Linked DNA regions of Homo sapiens: region 2 is linked to region 1. The links are contacts of gene promoters, found by promoter capture Hi-C in blood cells and fetal thymus (Javierre and others, 2016). All regions are on one chromosome and are shown on one strand. Each heading gives the region's core, a stretch centred on a gene start or on the middle of the fragment in contact. The rest is flanking DNA. Distances are from core to core; before and after follow the strand shown.

The links. Contacts are between HindIII fragments. The CHiCAGO score rates a contact against its expected background, and 5 or more counts as called.
Region 2: a contact is called between a fragment that was not itself captured here and the fragment with the promoter of SELP in region 1, in 1 of 17 cell types (neutrophils). The highest score is 5.5, in neutrophils.

Annotation. Positions count from the first base shown.
Region 1 is chr1:169,628,514-169,631,777 of GRCh38, reverse strand. SELP (selectin P) reads left to right here and starts at 1,654. Exons shown (of 17, transcript NM_003005.4): 1 at 1,654-1,706. The coding sequence starts at 1,704. The HindIII fragment of the contact is 5,122 bases long and covers 1-1,966 here.
Region 2 is chr1:169,822,399-169,826,084 of GRCh38, reverse strand. FIRRM (FIGNL1 interacting regulator of recombination and mitosis) reads right to left here. Exons shown (of 25, transcript NM_001320047.2): 11 at 2,613-2,677. Among named protein-coding and RNA genes, the nearest start is that of FIRRM, 29 kb to the right of the region's middle. The HindIII fragment of the contact is 5,588 bases long and covers 1-3,686 here.

The DNA of each region.
Region 1 (3,264 bases), core at 405-2,904:
AGTTCCACGTGGATGGGGAGTCCTCACAATCATGGTAGAAAGCAAAAGACACGTCTTACATGGCAGCAGGGAAGAGAGAGAAATGAGAACCAAACAAAAGGGGTTTCCCCTTATAAAACCATCAGCTCTCATGCGACTTATTCACTACCATGAGAACAGTATGGGGGAAACCACCCCCATGATTCAATGATCTACCAGGTGCCTCCCACAACCTGTGGGAATTATGGGAGCTACAATTCCAGATGAGATTTGGGTGGGGACACAGCCAAACCACATCACTGAGGAAACTGAGTTATAGGGAGATTAGTAACGCCCAACACAGCTGGTAGGTGGTGGAGCCAGGCAGTCTGACTCTAGGGTCTGGACTCTGAACTGCATCATGCTGCCAAGAAGTTCCTCATTTTTTCCTCTCTCTAAGTTTCCCTTATTCCCCTACAGTCATTCCTTCAACAGCATTTCCTTCACCATCTTTTCTACTTCTACTATATAATTAATTTTTTCTTCTTGGTCCCAAATTCCAACGTGCAAATGCAGCCTTATATACCCTAATTCATCTTTACCTTTAGACTTTCTTCCAATGTTTCTACTTCATTCCATTTTAAATTTATCCATGAGATGCCTATTTACAAGCTGTAACCATCATGAAGTGAATGAAGAATAATACCTACTACTGTACAATAGAATTCCAAGAGTATAAATAGGAGTTATGGCTTTCTGACTTGAAACTAAATACTTGATACTTGATTTTGCTGTCTGAGATCAATCTGAAAAGTAATAATAATCACTAACATTTGTTGAGCATCAATTGTGGGCCAAGTGTCATTTCAATCACTCTGTACATATTAACTCATTTCATCCTACAACAACCCGGTGAGGCAAGTTCTGTTATTCTGTTTTACAGTTGAGGAAACAGAGGCATAGAGAGCTTAAGTAGTTTGCCCAGTAGATAGCCAGAAGAGGAGCCAGGATGGGTCTCGGGCAGTTTAACAGCACAGCTGAAGTCTTAACCACTATGCCAACAGCTTTTTGGTCCTACACATCCCATGGGAAGAGGAAAATAAAAAGGTATCTATTTGTATACCTTTTTATTTCTGATATAAGAAGCAGAATTCCTTTCACATGACCTATGTCTATTTAATACGTCATTTTGAAACTTACCAATAAAATTTCCCAAGCGCCAGAAAACTGTTAGTGGCTTTTTCCATTTCTCTCTATTTTTTTTTGTGCTACTAATTTTGCTTCTTTCCCTCAGAAGGCTGCCGGAATAGTAAACATTCACTGACATGTCATAATTACTGGAAAATGGGCACTGGAAAATCACATTGTAATTAATTCAAAGCATGTTTTCCAAATGTACTACTTTAAATTGGAGCTTATATCATAATCCAAGGAAACCTTTGTGTGTGTACTGTTCCCACATTGCTCAGCCTGGGATATCCAGGAGTAATTCACCTTGCGCCTGCCTCCAGACCATCTTCCATGGAAGGGGGTGACCCCTTGCCTCTTGGCAACCACTATTTCTAAGCTGCCAACATTACTCTTGCATTATCAACATTCTAACTTCATGGGAAGGGCTGTGGTGAGTTTCTGGAATGTGAATAGGAAGTTGTTTTTCTAAACAGCCTGACACTGAGGGGAGGCAGTGAGACTGTAAGCAGTCTGGGTTGGGCAGAAGGCAGAAAACCAGCAGAGTCACAGAGGAGATGGTGAGTTTATTTTTTTCTGCATGGGAAGTGGTTGAAGTGAGTTGGAGTGGTATGGAGTAAAGTCAGGCAGGTAAAGGTTCAGAAAGTGAGGAACAGCGATAGCCATGGAGTTTTATGTTGAATTGCCTATTAGATTTTGTGAGTACTTTTAAACTTGCTGTCCACTTTGACCCTCCCAACACCCTTGTGAGTTGAGGTTGCTATTTCTATTTTACAAATAAAGCCATCGTGGTTTACAGAGGCTGTGTTTTATCTAAGCTTCACTGTTAGGCTACATGATGTTGGGATCTGGGGCCTGTCCTCTGGCTCCGCAGCTGCTGTTCCTCCTACTAGAATTTATAGGGGCTCTCTGAGAATAGATCATGGTAAACCTGTCACCCCATTTTCCAAGACTGTACTTCTCTCTGGGATAAATGATGGAATAAATGGAAGACTGGGTAGGTGCCCTGGGACAAGCTTACAATTGAATAGTTTCTCATCCCCATCCCTCCCATTTCTTTCTGTGAGCCTATGAATCTTCTGGGACTGATCTGGAATATCCACATAGTTTCCTTTTCTGCCCTAAGACTCAATCTTGTTAATGACTCAGTTTCTTCTTCTATAAAATGGATATAGTAATAATACTCTATAGTTTCATCATGAGGATTAAATAAGATTTTGCTGAAAAGCATCCAGATCTGAGCCTGACACATAGTAAGTGATTAGTAAATGTTAGCCATTATTGTTACAATAAAAAGAAAATTCTTAGGAATAGTGGGGTTTAGGATTCAGGGAAGATCCAAGGATAGCTAGGCATTTTGAACTCAGCAATGTTATATGCTCATGGATAAGATGCACGTGGTTAGGCTACTTCTAATTCAGGGAAGATCCAAGGATAGCTAGGCATTTTGAACTCAGCAATGTTATATGCACCTAGATAAAATGCACATGGTTAAGCTACTTCCAATTTTCCTCAGACTTTCCAAGAGTATCCCACATAGTCCCAGGGTCCGAAATCCTGCAGTCTGTGGCTATGGAGGAACCAGGCAGGTCTCTGTTTTTGAGCACCTTTCTGTGGGACTCCAGAAAAAAGTACCGCATACACCTGATTCATCCTACTGCTTTGCTTTACTATAGCACACTTTTCAAGTACTTATAATGTGGGTTTCTGTGTTGGGGAAAACAGGAATAAGAGTATGATAAAGAGAAGAGGAAGGAGTTTGAGCCTGTCTTAAGTTTGAACCACAATGACCTAAGGATATGAATTACTTTTGTCCTGTCTTTTTGCATGTCATACTTCTGAATTGGTTAACTTAAATGAGCAGTTATTCCTCTCTTCCTTCTACTCTCCTTGGCATCCTCCTCTATTTCAAAGGTATGAACTTATTGGATCAGAGAGTTCTTTGAGATTTTGATGAAAGTTACAACTTGTCTTTCCCAGATGAAAGCAAAAACATCGACATAAACACCAACCTTTAGAGACAACCACAGGAGGTTCCCAGACCTCCATGTGGATCCCAGGGTAAGAACCCTTCTCGATTGCCTCCTGGGCTTTATGTTCAGAAGCCCCTCTCTTGGT
Region 2 (3,686 bases), core at 427-2,926, 190 kb before region 1:
AGAAAAAAAAAGTTGTTTTAAAATAGGCAGAATGCTGAATTTACTATGAATTAATACTCAGTTTCTCAGAAGCAAGAGCTTTACAAGAAATAAACTGTATACTAACACTGAAGAATGGAAAGATTATTTCATGAAAATGTCTCAGTAACTGGATTTTAAACTGAACTTCAATCAAAACTTATGTGAACTAAGATATGTATTCTATATTTTTTGCCACATTAATTGTAAACTTGACAATACATGAGAAAACTCTGTCTAGCAGAGGATAACAGCATTTTAAAGTATGCACTTAAGATAAACACTTGAGGTTTTTGTAGAGTGATGGAAAAAGCACCAATCTGTCAATTAGTTACATGACTTTGGTTCATTCATTTGCCCTCCCTGAGACTCAGTTTCATCATTTGTGACATTGATTCTGAGTTACTGTGAGGATTAAATTATAAATAAATAAAAGACATATACAAATAAAACATAGTAATGAAATTCCACAGACTTGAATTACATCTACTGAGCATCATTGCAAGAATTTATTTTTTCAATCAACTATTTTTAAATTAATTTGACATATGTTTACTAAGTGCCTATGTATACATGCCATGCACTGTTCCACGAGTGGGTGATACAGTAATAAAGAGAATATACAAAGTCACTGTCTTTATAGTTTACAATTCTAATGAAAGGGGACAGTTAACAGACAAGTGTACAAGTAAATACATAATATAGCAGAGGTTAATTCAATGCTGTAAAGAAGAAAAATAAAACAAGGAAAGAAAGACAAGAAGTTCCATTGATGAAAGTCATTTTGAGGGGTTGAGCAGAGAAGTCACATCATCTGATTTATGTATTTTATCATTTACTTTGGCTACTTTGTGGAGAACAAACTAGCGCGAGGCAAAGATAGAAAGTTTTTTGCAAAATCCAGGCAAGAAAATAATAGGGGGTCAGATCAGATGGTAGCAGTTCAGGTGATGAGAAGTGCGTGTACGTGTGCGTGTGTGCACTGAAGGTAACATTGACAGAACATGTTAATAGGGCAAGGTTTTTTGGCCTGATCAATTTGAAGAACTGCCACTTAAACTGAAATAAAGAAGTTACAAAAGGAACAGATTTTGTTGGGTATGAGGATGATATGGGTGGAAATCAAGAGTTCAGTTTGGGACAATTTAGTATAGATGTCCTGACTAGTAGTTAAACATTAAAGGAGACATAAACTTAAAGTCTTGAGACTAAATGATAATAGACAGATAACAGGCCTGAGGAGTAAGTGCTGGGACACACTTAACTTAGAAGAGAAACCTGCTAAGGAGGCTGAGAAGGAGCAGCTAGTAAGACTAGAAGAGAACCAAGAGTGAGACATGCCCTAGAAACCAACAGAACAAAGTGTTCAAAAAAGAGGATCAAGTGCTACTGACAGGTTACAGAAGGACTATAATTGACTACTGGATGCAGCAATGTGGTGGTCACTGATGACCTTAACAAGAACTATTTTGATGAAGTGTTGGTACAGAAAGCCTGATTGGACTAGATTCAAGAAAGAGTTGAGACAGGGGTATAGACAACTCTTTCTAGAAATTTTGCTGTAAAGAAAGGCAGAGAAACGAGACGGTATTTGTAGGAGGACGTAGAGTCAAGAGATTTTGTTTTGTATTGTTAAGATGGGAAAAATAACAGCATATTTGTATACTCATGAGAGTGACCCAGTATGGAGGAAAGGCTGATGATGCAAGAGGGAAAGGGAATAATTGCTGGTGCAAGGTCACTGAGCCTGTGAGAGAGGATGAAATCCAATGCACAATGGAGAGGCTAGTCTTAGGGGCACAGTTCACTCATGGGAGTGAGGGAATGAATATATGGGTCTAGATACACATAGAATAGTAGATGTGTTAGAGGAAACATACAGCAGCTCTCTTAATTGCTTCCATTTTTCCTCAGTGACACAGGAAGTGAGGTCATTGACAGTGAGGAATTGGGAAGGTGTTGGAAGATACAGGAAGTTTGAGGAAGGAAAGGTGTGAAAAAGTTGTCTGGGACACTAAATGAATTATGAAGCTGCAACAGGACTGCTGGATAAATGAACTCACTTTGTGTCAAATTTAGGGCTCTTTGGAGGAAACCATCAATTTTAGAAGTCACTTAGCCCCCATCTAAATTTTGATACCTTTCTGTAATTCAGTTCTTTTCTGAGATGGTTTCAGAAAAAAGACTGTCCTGTAAAGTGAATTACAGAAAGGTATCAAAATGTAAATTTAAATGGAGGCTAAGTGACTTAAACTTCATAGAAACAAAATAAAAATAAAGATTAAAAAATGCCAATAGAAAAATAAAGGTATACGTATATTTGTGTATATATATATTTATATTTGCCATTGGATTTTATCACCTACTAATTATTACTCCTGTATAAGGTACTAATAAAATACAAAGATAAGCATAACTCATGTGGAATGTATCTTTCAAAAGCCTCTATCTCCAATTATTTCAAGCTAGCAGATAAAAATTACTAAAACATTAAGAAAAATTATTCTGTTTTATCATAAAATGGTAGGTACTTAAGCACTGCATGGCACAGATGGCATTGTTGTATCTTAATAATCATATGGCATTCTTCTTACCTGTGTATCTGAAGATACAGTTGGTGCAAAGTACAGCAAGAATCAGAGAGGAAAGGAAGAAATTCCTAAAATAAAACAACTCTATTCATTCTTTGCATAAAAATATGTCTCTTTAGTACATATAATCTCACAAAGGTATGCAAAATAACATAAAATCCTGAATGTGACCCCTTTTAAAAAAATTATTTGTTTTTCTTTCTTTTCTTTTCTTTTTTTTTTTTTGAGATAGCGTTTCACTCTTGTTGCCCAGGCTGCAGTACAATGTTGTGATCTCGGCTCATGAAACCTCTGCCTCCCAGGTTCAAGCAATTCTCGTGCCTCAGCCTCCCAGGCAGCTGGGATTACAGGCATGTACCACCATGCCCGGCTAATTTTGTATTGTTAGTAGAGGAGGGGTTTCACCATGTTGTCCAGGCTGGTCTTGAACTCCTGACCTCAGGTCATCCACCTGCCTTGGCCTCCCAAAGTGCTGGGATTACAGGCATGAGCCACCACACCCAGCACTAAAAAAAAATTCTTAACATGAGAATGAAAGGAGGATGAGGCTAAAAAACTCATTGTTCTATTTAACCACAATGTTCAAACGTTAAAAACTGTGTCATAATTTTAAAGAGGGCTGCGTATTTGAGAGTCATCAGAACAGTAGCGATAACTGTAAAATAGAAAAGTTGTCGACCGGGCACAGTGGCTCACACCTGTAATCCCAGCATTTTGGGAGGGCAGGGCAGGCAGATCACCTGAGGTCAGGAGTTCAAGACCAGACTGACCAACATGGTGAAACCCCATCTCTACTAAAAATACAAAAATTAGCTGGGTGTGGTGGCAGGCGCCTGTGGTCTCAGCTCCTCGGGAGGCTGAGGCAGGAGAATCACTTGAACCTGGGAGGCAGAGGTTGCAGTGAGCCAAGATCACGCCATTGCACTCCAGCCTGGGCAACAGAGCGAGACTCTGTCTCAAAAAAATTAATAAATAGAAAAGTTGTCAAGGCAGATTATTTGCAAAGATGAGCAGAGAATGCTTACAGCAGCCAGTGAACAAAACATTATTAGTAAAAGATATTAGTGGTTTTTAAAA